Linked DNA regions of Homo sapiens: region 1 is linked to region 2. Evidence: promoter capture Hi-C in 16 types of primary human blood cells and fetal thymus (Javierre and others, 2016). All regions are on one chromosome and are shown on one strand. Each heading gives the region's core, a stretch centred on a gene start or on the middle of the fragment in contact. The rest is flanking DNA. Distances are from core to core; before and after follow the strand shown.

Region 1 (6,146 bases), core at 2,153-4,652, 1.4 Mb after region 2:
ATGGTGTCTCCAATTTGTGGCTGACTCAAGGCCTCATGAATAATGAGTCAGTGCTTCGATGTCTCATATATCTGTGAATTCTGAATGTGTGGCTCCTTTTGTATATTTTGTGCATCAGGAACATTAGGTATCTTTTGACCCTTCCATCCCTTATATCTATATTTAACAACATATGCTCTTTTTACTAACTACTTATGTCTACTTAAAACATCTTAAGCATTTTTGCCTACATTTTACTAACTAAAAGCATATTTATCTTTTATAATAGAATTGCTCATTTACAAAAGTAAATATGTGTTACAATCCATATCATTTATTGGTGTATCCCTGACATATAGTAGGCACTCAATACATATATGGAATGAGAGAATTGTGCTTTCTCTCTCCCTTTTCGCCTTCCCCTCCTCCTGCTTTTTCTCCTACTCTCACACTGTCTCTCTCTCTCAAACACACACACACACACACACACACACACACACACACACACATTGGACAGGAATCCCAGAGATCTGGGTTCTGGCGTGACAGCATGTTTTTCACAAATACTTCTTGGTTTCCATTCCTTCAAATGTAAATAAAGGTAGGGTTTAGTAAGATGATCTTTGAGTTTCCTTCCAGGATTCAGAGTTTCATCAATAATTTCTTTATTCCTTTGCTCTACAAGGTTTCTTTGTGCTGTGGCTTTAATGTAGCCTATCAAACACATTTCAACAAAATCAAAAGCCTTTTGTTTTGCCCATCACCATTTCTAGGAGGATCACTGCCAAGATCCCAAAGTAGAGGAAATTTTTCCTATAGAACATAATTGAATTTTGTATTAAGCAAGCTAAAACCAGAGAAAGATTAGATTTTAAAACCTTTAAAAGTGAAGCTAGGAGAGGTGCCTCATGTCTATAGTCCCAGCTACTTGGGAGGCTGGAGTAGGAAGATAGCTTGAGCCCAGAAGTTCAAGGCTGCAGTAAGCTAGGATGGCCCCACTGCATTTCAGCCTGGGTGACTAGCTGGACCACATTACTTAAAAAAACAAAACAAAATGTACACAATCTTTAAAAGTGATATGAAATCAAAACAATAACAGATTTATAGGTAAGTCTACGGAAGTTTCCAGAGCTGTCTTTTTAATTACCAGAAAAACTAGAATAACATTCTTATGAAAGGATTAAACAACAATTGAATAACATTATGGATTGCCATCATTGTAAAAAACAAGAATTAAAAGGCAATATAGGCTAGACACAGTGGCTCACACCTGTAATCGCAGCACTTTGGGAGGCCAAGGCGGGCGGATCACCTGAGATCGGGAGTTCGAGACCAGCTTGACCAACATGGAGAAACCCCATCTCTACTAAAAATACAAAATTTGCCAGGTGTGGTGGCGCATACCTGTAACCCCAGCTACTCGGGAGGCTGGGCAGGAGAATCACTTGAACCCGGGAGGCAGAGGTTGCAGTGAGCTGAGATCGTGCCATTGCACTCCAGCCTGGGCCACAAGAGCAAAATTCTGTCTTAAAAAAAAAAAAAGGGGGGGGGCAATATATAGTTGTTTATGTATTTCTTATCTATTTAGCTACTAAACTTCTGAAAAACATCTTGTTACTCAAGAACAAAAAAATACACTATTTGACCAATTAACCACTTACTGCGGTATTTCCCTTTTGTTCAAATTGCATATGAAGGTACATATTGGTGACCTAATTTGTTTAATTTGCAATATTCCCAAGATAAAAACTAGTGGTTGCCCATTAAAAGTCTTTCAGGCTGTGGTCTTGAGATATGGAAAGGAGAGGCACTTTGAATTTTTGCTTAAAGCCTCGCATTCAAAGCTAAATAGGTATGGACTATATCTTTCTGGAAGCCATATTATATTAGACACTACTTTACAAATAATAATTTTAGTTTAATATGTTATACTAAAACATAGATACAAACTATTTCCCAGAGGATTTCTTCAGATGCTTAGAATGAAGAAAAGTATCCATTAATATATTAAGGGATTTTTTTGTGTGTGTTTTAATTTCTTAAGGCTATGTTTTATATCATGTTTGCTTTAATAGTAGAATTAATACAGAATATAAAACTGAGAGTATAGACATGGCCTATTCATGCAGAAATTCAAGTTTTACATAGGACTAGGATGTCCGGTAATTATAACTTCTAAAGTCTCTGCACTTTTCAAAGAAAAAAAACCTGTAAATTTACATCTCAATTACCTTAATTAATATTAGAAGTTTGTGCATGTGAAGTGAATATATATGTGGAGTTGCACCTAAAATACATTATAGCCCAAGTATACTAGTATCGTTTACTAGTTGGTTCTTGTGAAATGGTGTTTCAAGAATATTGAACTATATAAATAATTGCACTAAAATTTTGGAGATAGCATTGTAAATATTACACTGGACTTTAAAAAATAATTCTAGATATTAATTTTAATGCTTTGTAGCTTGATCATAATTTAATTACTTTTTCCAGCATTTTAAATCGACATCTTGAAAATAAACTGTAGATTATCAACAAATTCTGTGTATATTAAGGTATTTATATGTGGCCACATTATTGTATGCTCATGAAGCTCATCTCAGCAGCAAGGTGGAGAATACAGATAGGTCCAATCTTTTGATGGTTTAGCTACATATTCTGTGAGCCAAATGACACACTTTACACATACATACACTCAATTTATTATTCATATTATATTTAACGGAGTTAATGGAATAATAATAAACTGAACATCAATGATACCTTTGTAATTTTGTTGTTCTCTTGGAGTAAGAGTGTTAGAAAATTAAAATTCCATTTCATTTTCTTTTCAAACAACTGCTATACACATAATAAAAACTGGGAGGCATCATTTAGAATTATAAAGTACAAAAAAAACCCACGGTAACTACATGCATTTATTAGCTGTGGAGTATATTAGTTGTCCTAAAAGCTCAATGTAGAATGTTAAAGTCACTACTGTGACTTTAATAATACGTGGATAAAAGTCCATTGTGTGCGTTCTAAAATTTTAAATAATATTGTTCTTTAAACACGTTATTTAAATTAACCCACAATATAGTAAATTAACCTTGGTAAGGGAATTGTTTTTATGACAGAGAAGAATGAAGCTTTTTGATCGTGAAGAAAAGTGAGTTAGATTTAAAAAGGAAAACTTTTTAGGAAGGATAAAGGACATTCAGTGAAAGGAGTAACATGCACTCATCCTCTAAAAACAGTGTTCTTTGATATGTGAGAGAGGAGGAAATAAAAGAAAAAAAGTCAGTGTTTTAAATCTGTCACTAAATATCATCTAAAAGTCCCATAAGTCAACCAGGTGCATCAGTGCACACAGAAAACAATGTAACGTAAACCGTAGTGTAGATATTTTTAGTTTCTAGTCAAGAACCCAACGTTCTTGAAGAGGATCCAATTACAAGTTTTGGGGAATAGGAAATCCTAATGAGTGTAGGACATCATGCTGACGGAAGGTGAGGATAATCTCAGATGTCTGGAGAAGCAATAAAAAGTAAGTTAGGGCAGGAGAGAGGCAAGAAAGCCTGAAAGAATCCCCACTAATAATTAGTATGGCTAACTTGAGAATTTTAGTTAAACAGAACACTTACAGTTGTCAATTGGAATAGATTCAGCATGTAAAATGCCAGCAATCCATGATGATAATCAATTGGAACAAACAGTATGATGAGCTGAATAAGAAGCTTACACTGTGTTCTAGGATTTGTCTTCTCCTAGGTCATTGTGCCCTACATCTCTGAGATGAGCATCATGCTCTCCAGGAGGGTCCCATCCTTCCATTTGTAAGGTTCTATTGTATTTACCTTGGGGAAAACTCCACCTCCCACCAAGCTGTAGAACAAGGTTCAAAAGAGAGCTCCCTGGAAAACTCCTTGGTGCTTTGTTCACTGAAATGTTATGTTAGGAGAGCTTATTTCATCTTAGTGGCTGTCATTGCTGGGAATCCAAACTCTAATTCCCAAGGCATTCTCAAATTATCATCTGCATCAGCTTCTGCCATAGCCATCCCCACCAGTGTCACCAACAATATTGTTACTAAGAAAATAATTTTCAAAAAATGTTTGCTTTTTTTTTTGTCCTAAGGACAGTGATTTCTATAATGGCAACAATTGCAGTTAATTTCAAAATGTGGTCTGGGGACCCCTGAGGCCCTTGTAGTGGGTCTGTGGGCTAATATTATTTCATACTAATTCTGACACTAATTTTTCTTTTTCATTATTATTTTCAGATGACATTTATATTGCAAGAGATTGAATGCAGAAAGAAGAATTCAGCTTTCTTTTATTAAACAAGGCATTAGAGAGATTTGCAAAATTGTAAAACAGTGTCACTCTTTTTATTTTAAAAAATAGCTATTTTTCATAAAATATGTATGCTAACATAAAATGGGTTTATTACTGTTATTTTTAAATGAATTAACCAAATTTTTTTGTTTTACTATATAATACGGTAAATGTCAATAGTTATAACCTACAGAAACACAAATTCTTTGGATTGCAAAGCTCCACCACCTAATATGCTATAGATCAAGGTTCAAAAGAGAGCTCCCTGGAAAACTCCTTGGTGTTTTGTTCACTGAAATATTATTTAAGGAGAACATATTTTATTTTAATGACTGTCATTGCTGGCATCCGAACTCTAATTCCCAAGGCATCCTCAAATTATCATCTGCATCACTTCATTACTTTTTAAGAGTGTAAGTGGGTCATGAGACCAGAAGGTTCAAGAACTGCTGCCTTAGGGTATATACCACACTAGTAATGTTCATTTGTGTTCAAATGACTATTTTTCAAAGTATTTGGAGTATCCCTTCCTGCACACTTATGTTATGATCTAGATATACAGATCCATTTACTTTGTTTTGCTGTTGATGTCTAGGATTGGACTTTTTAATGTTTGGTTCTATCATTACATAAAATATTTTTACATAGTCCCAAGGTCAAATCAAATTATATCCAAAGAAATCTTTCTCCTTCATGCTAATAGCCTCTCTTGCCTTAGAGTAATAATTTTAAAGGTTATGATATATCCTTCTGTTGTTTATTATAAGCATATATGTATGTATTCTTAGGGAATATTAACTTCATTTTGCTGTTGATGTCTAGGGATTGGACTTTTTAATATTTGTTTCTACCGTTACATAAAATATTTTTACATAGTCCCAAGGTCAAATCAAATTATATCCAAAGAAATCTTTCTCCTTCATCCTAATAGCCTCTCTTACCTTAGAGTAATAATTTTAAATGTTATGATATATCCTTCTGTTGTTTATTATAAGCATATATATATGTATTCTAGGGAAGATTAACTCGTATCACAGGAGAGGAGACTGGAAGTTGATACTATGCAAGATAAACTTTGTCACAGACAGTCACCTGTTCTTTGGAGGGCCCATTCATCTTTCCCAAAAATAATTTCCTCTCCCCTACATTGCCTACATCCCCCTTCCTGTCTTCCCTATGAAGACAGTATATAAGCTTCTAGATCTCACTGGGCTTGGGGGGCATTCACTTATTTTTCATGTGATACCTCCATGCACAAAATAAAATTTTTTTTTTTCGAGACGGAGTCTTGCCGCGTCTCCCAGGCTGGAGTGCAGTGGCGCGATCTCGGCTCACTGCAAGCTCCGCCTCCGGGGTTTAGGCCATTCTCCTGCCCCAGCCTCCTGAGTAGCTGGGACTACAGGCGCCCGCCACCATGCCCGGCTAATTTTTTTGTGTTTTCAGTACCGATGGGGTTTCACTGTGTTAGCTAGGATGGTCTCGATCTCCTGACCTCGTGATCCGCCCGCCTTGGCCTCCCAAAGTGCTGGGATTACAGGCGTGAGCCACCACGCCCGGCCACAAAATAAATTTTTATATCTTTCTCTTATTAATCTGCCTGCTGTCAATTTATTTCATACACTTAATTATCAAACCCTCAGAGGGCAGAGGGAGTCTTCCCTCCCCTACAGTTCCAATCAGATTGTTTTCTAGTTAGCATGAGGGTTGATCTAAGATGTCTGGTCTACCATTACTGAAAATAATTACTAAAAATAGAATCAATGGTATAGTATTTGTTAACATGTTTTAAAAATATCAATAACTAAATTATCATAGGGCTTCCAATTCTTAAAATCTTCAAAATGCAGT
Region 2 (5,835 bases), core at 1,513-4,012:
TCAGTCTATGTGCTGATGAGAAGACAGGGAGTAAGAACTAGGAAAGCTCAGTTTAAGAGGGGAAGACAAGCTTGGAAACAAAAGATGACAATAAACACATCTGCTTCTGAAACTAGGGCTCAGATCAGGTGTCTGCCATGAGAAAGGGACCAAGTGTCACAGGATACACCTGGCCCATCTTCCAGGAAAGCCTACTTCTCTTGGAGGGGACAAAGGCTAATCAGGAGAAGCCCTAGAAGTGAGGTTGCATCTGCTTGATGCAATGTCTGAAAGACATTGCAGAAGGTGCAGCCCTTACATGAGCTTTTGAGGGAAGAATAGGAGTTCATCATAAAGATAAGAGGGAACAGGCTAGTCGCGGTGGCTCACACCTATAATCCCAGCACTTTGGGAGACCGAGGCGGGTGTATCACTTGAGGTCAGGAGTTCAAAACCAGCCTGGCCAACATTGGGAAACCCCACCTCTACCAAAAATACCAACAAAGCCAGGCGTGGTGGGGCACGCCTGTAGTCCCAGCTACTTGGGAGGCTAAGGCAGGAGAAATGCTTGAACCTGGGAGTCAGAGGTTGCAGTGAGCTGAAATTGTGCCACTGCCCTCCAGCCTGGGTGACAAAGTGAGACTCCATCTCAAAAAAAAAAAAAAAAAAAAGTTAAGAAGAGACAGAATATTCTGGAAGGGGGAAGGCAAGCACTGCTATCTGGAGGCCTGAGAGGCATTGTGGGTTGAGGTAACCACACCCACTCCAAATTCAGCCTGTGGGTGGACAAGCAGGGAAGGAGAAGGGGAATGGAGAAAAAGCCCTCAGGAAAGAAGCAAGGAGACTGCCAGAGTATTTTCTTGACCAGATCAAGCTAGACCTACAGTATTTTCCTAACCAGATTAAGGTGCATAAACTTGATGCTGAAGTCACTAGGGAGATGTGGAAGGATTTTTAAGCAAAAAGTGATATGATCAGATTTGCATTTGGGAAAGATCATTCTCTTGGCAGTCTGGTGGGTGAAATGGAGCAACTGTCTTTTGTCTTAATCACAATTCCAACTCAAAGATAAATAACAAAACTGGGAAGAATGTTTGTTACAAATATAATACAGGATTGATATTTTTAAGTTATTAAAATTCACACAGATTGCTAAGAACTAGCACCAGGACCAGTCTTGAAAACAATGGGCAACTGGCCTGAACAGCTCATTTCTAGAATGTATTAAATGTCTAATTAACACATAAAAAACTCCAGCCTCGCTAACATATAAAGGCACAATAAATAATAATTTAATTAACTTGACCCATCCCAATAGTAAGGATGTGAAATAATAACTTCTCAGTGCTAGCAGGGATTAGGTGAGGGCACCTCCATTGAGGGTGTGATGGATTCAACATTTCAGGAAGGGACTGTAGAAATATGCTGATACTAGGTCGGGCATGGTGGCTCACACCTGTAATCCCAGCACTTTGGGAGACCAAGGCAAGCAGATCATTGAAGCTCAGGAGTTCGAGACCAGCCTGGCCAACATGGTGAAACCCTGTCTCCACTAAAATACAAAAATTAGTTGGGCATGGTGGCACGTGCCTGTAATCTCAGCTACTCAGGAGGCTGAGGCAAGAGGAAAATCCTTTGAACCCTGGAGGCGGAGGTTGCAGTGAGCCAAGATTACGCCACTGCACTCCAGCCTAGGCGACAGAGTGAGATTCCGTCTCAAAAAAAAAAAGAAAAGAAAAGAAATATGCTTATACCATTTGATCTGATGACTCTATTTCTGGAAATTTATTAAACAGTTTATCAGGACATTATCCAATTTGCAAATAAAGACTTATATATAAAGTGTATTATTTACAATAGGAAAAAAATCCCAAATGTCCCACAATCATGGCAATTATACAACTATTAACAATATTTTGAGTTACACAAAAAGTCTAATTGATTGCTTTTATGATATACATAAGCATAAAATAAATCTTGGAAGGACTATGCCAAAATGTGAATTGAGGCTATCATTAGTTAGTAGATTAAGTGTGACCTCCATTTTATAAAAATATTTTTCTGTATTTTTAAATTTTTTCATAACAATGAGAGGTAGGTTTAGTATAAATTAAGGAATTGTAGGCCTCATGATGAGTTGCTTCAAAAGAAATAATTGTCAGGGAGGCAACTTTTGGGCCCTGTAAACAGAATTCACAGCCTACCCTTAAGACTGGCCTTTAATGGAGTTGTTCCAACAGACACAGCACCTAAGGTGGACGGACGCTCCAATAACGAAGATGGCTATAGACAGAGGCTACTGCTACCTTGGCCTCTGGGCTTTCATTTTTCAACCCGCAGAAATAATAATAGAATAACAATTTATCCTCCGCTGAGTTCCTACTATGTGCTAAGCACTTTACCTGCTTAATCTCACTTAATCCTCCCAACACCTCTTCAAGAAAGGTATGATCAATATTATTACCATTTTAGAGATCAAAGAACTGAGGCTTGGAAAGAGGAAATAACTGGCTGAAGCCATCACATCTCATTTGTGTGTTTCCTTGCCTCTCTTCTCTTTTTCTCTTTTCTGCCTTTCATTTGGTCCAGCTCATCAATGCATATCTTGATTTCTGAGCTGAAGACCACAAATCCAGTTTTCCATCTCTCTGAAAAACTTTTCATCTCCCTTTTTTTTTTCCTCAGAGTGAATATACCAGGCCACCTGGAGGCAGGCTTTCCTGAGAGCACCTCCCGCTTCCTTTTCCTGCTGGCTTTTAACTTTTGCCCCGGGGGCCACAGCCAGCTTTCTCACTTGGTAGCAGTGGCCTCTTGTGCCTTTTTCTCCAAGATCACCCAGGTCAGTATGTGTGGTTACTCTCAGCTCCCTGAGGGAGTGAGCAGCCAGAGGGGCATAGCATACTTCTCTCCCTCCAGCTCCTTTCTCCTTGGTCCTAGGCCCTCTACTCTTCAAGCCCTTTTGCTTGCTTCAGCTCCTGCTTCTTGCTCCATCTCCTCCCATCTTTTCTCTCTTCTCCAATTCATTTCCTTGGACTCCATTTCTGCCTTTATACCCTTATCTTTATTATCATTGCCAAAAGCAAATACCAAATTCTTGTATTTGAAAAAAGACTTTGGCCAGGCACGGTGGCTCACGCCTGTAATCCCAGCACTTTGGGAGGCCAAGGCGGGTGGATCACGAGGTCAGGAGTTCGAGGCCAGCCTGGCCAACGTGGTGAAACTCCGTCTCTACTGAAAATACAAAAAATAGCGGGGCATGGTGGTGCGCGCCTGTAGTCCCAGCTACTCCGGAGGCTGAGGCAGAACAATCGCTTGAACCCAGGAGGCTGAGGTTGCATTGAGCCGAGATCATGCCACTGCACTCCAAGCTGGGCAACAGAGCAAGACTGTCTCAAAAATAAATAAATAAATAAATAAAAAGGAGACTTTTTTTTTAGTGCAGTGATTCCAAGATTTGTTCATCGATATGCAACCAACTAATGAGTGTTATGCCTCACAGTTCCCTTCTCCTAAGTTTTAGAGTTAGAGTAGTGGGTGGGAAGGTGATAACCACAGTGTAAACTAAAAATCCATACTGGGGATGGAGGCTGAGAGGAGGTTTCAGGGGCAAATGACCAGAACACTTGCAGCTGGAAAGAACTGTAGAGAGGACTTTGGAAAGCGGAGGGTTGACAGAGCCGGTAGTTGTCTCCTGTCCATTCATCTCCTAGGCTGAAGCTCCTGAGGGGACTCACATCAGTTATCTTGCTGCTCCAGAAGGGTGGGAGATGGCAGTTTTCCCAAGCTCCGGTCTCCCCAGATGTCTGCTCACCCTCATTCTCCTCCAGCTGCCCAAACTGGATTCAGGTAAGTCTCTCTCTCTCTCTGGGCTGCATAGTTGAAATATATCAATAAATGTAAAATAAACAATCCCACTTGGCTCTCCCTGGAGACCTCCACTGGATCCAGACAAACTCAGCTGTCAAAGGAGTAAGAGAGCGCGGGGCACTGCGCTTTGGCGGGAATCTGGTCGGTGTCTGTCCGTAGTTCCCATCTCCACATCCCGTCTGATCCCGCTCGTTTTTCGGCAGCTCCCTTTGACGTGATTGGACCCCCGGAGCCCATCCTGGCCGTTGTGGGTGAGGACGCCGAGCTGCCCTGTCGCCTGTCTCCGAACGCGAGCGCCGAGCACTTGGAGCTACGCTGGTTCCGAAAGAAGGTTTCGCCGGCCGTGCTGGTGCATAGGGACGGGCGCGAGCAGGAAGCCGAGCAGATGCCCGAGTACCGCGGGCGGGCGACGCTGGTCCAGGACGGCATCGCCAAGGGGCGCGTGGCCTTGAGGATCCGTGGCGTCAGAGTCTCTGACGACGGGGAGTACACGTGCTTTTTCAGGGAGGATGGAAGCTACGAAGAAGCCCTGGTGCATCTGAAGGTGGCTGGTGAGTAGACGGGTTTTGACTTTCTCCGACGACTCCCCTGCTGTATACACTTTCGTATGGATCAGTTACTTTGGAAACCATCAGATTCATTCTCAAAATCTCTTTTAGGTTGATGTCGCCGGGGAGGGACGACTATCTGGGCGGGAGGCGAGGGGGGGTAAAAGAATTTACCAAGACAGTTGTAAAGAAAGGCAGATTTACTTTTAAAAGTATGAAAATACTTTTCGAGGAGGCAAAAGGCAGGATCAGCAAAAGAGAAGCTGACTGCCAGGAAACAAAGGCTTGCTGGATAATTTATAGAATAGTTTTTATGCTGTCTGTTGAAGATGGCTTTGTGCAGTATCTATAAGGCAAAGGTTGCAGTGAGCTAACTTGCAGGTGTTTGGTGATAGTTGGACACAGGAAGGATGACTGTGAGTTATTTGCACAGGAGGGCTGTGTACTGGACCATGAAGAAAGGCAGACTTGCAGCTTATCTGCCTTATCTCTTTGTTTTCCCCTGATTAGGACTCCACAGCTAGAAGGTACTGAAGGTCCTACAGTAGGAAATCAGTGAGAAAGGGTTTTGAGTTGAACATGGAGAGAACAGTGCAATGTCTTTATTGTAGAACTTTATTTCAATTATCTCCAGCCCTTTTTCAATAATAGGGTAAGCATTTCTTCATGAAATAATTAAATACATATAAGAGTTATATAACATTCTTTTATACAAGTACACCATAATTTACTTCATCGAGTCCCTGAATTGTACATTTAAATTGTATTTCTCACCATTACACATCTTATGGCTGTGGTGAGCATACCACACACTTTAAGGCTGGCTTATGGATTAGTTTCTAAAGACTGACATCCTAAGATTAGAGAGCATGGCGGTTTGTCACATTCCTGATTCATATAGAAAAGATTCTGTTCTTGTTCCCTTTTTTGCTTCAAGCCAGAATTCAAAGGGAAACAATAAAGAAAATAATAAGCTTTGAGGAGGAAAGTACGCATTGAGGTCTGACTTTCTCAATTCCTAGTGAATGACATCAAGCAAATCTCTTTCTGATTTTTACTGTAAAACTGAGGATGTTTTTATCTAAGATTATTTTTCAAGAATAAAATAGTCTGGGACCAGTGGCCAACTCCTATAATCTCAGCGCTTTGGGAAGCAGAGGCAGGAGGATCTCTTGAGCCAAGAAATTCAAGGTTACAGTAAGCTGATGGTTGCCACTGCACTCCAGCCTGGACAATAGAGTGTGCTGTCAAAAAAAGAAAAAAAAAAAGTGGGATGTGGTGTCTCACGCCTGTAATCCCAGCATTTTGGGAGGCCAAGGCGGGTGACTCACTTTTGATCAGGATATTCAAGACCAGCCTGGCCAACATGGCAAAACCCCATCTCTACTAAAAATACAAAAAGAAATTAGCTGGGTCATACCTGTAATCCCAGCTACTCAAG

Evidence for each region. The method cuts DNA at HindIII sites, captures the fragments that hold promoters and counts their contacts. A CHiCAGO score of 5 or more calls a contact.
Region 1: a fragment that was not itself captured here is called in contact with the fragment with the promoter of BTN1A1 in region 2 in 1 of 17 cell types (activated CD4 T cells); the score reaches 6.0 in activated CD4 T cells.

What each region holds. Positions count from the first base shown.
Region 1 is chr6:27,847,866-27,854,011 of GRCh38, forward strand. No RefSeq gene overlaps it. Among named protein-coding and RNA genes, the nearest start is that of H2BC15, 12 kb to the left of the region's middle. The HindIII fragment of the contact is 588 bases long and covers 3,109-3,696 here.
Region 2 is chr6:26,497,541-26,503,375 of GRCh38, forward strand. It overlaps BTN1A1 (butyrophilin subfamily 1 member A1), which reads left to right and starts at 2,763. Exons shown (of 8, transcript NM_001732.3): 1 at 2,763-2,818; 2 at 3,690-3,825; 3 at 4,050-4,397. The coding sequence starts at 3,747. The region is part of intron 1 of LOC107986583 (a long non-coding RNA gene); the gene reads right to left. RefSeq lists an enhancer at 4,052-4,181. The HindIII fragment of the contact is 5,298 bases long and covers 69-5,366 here.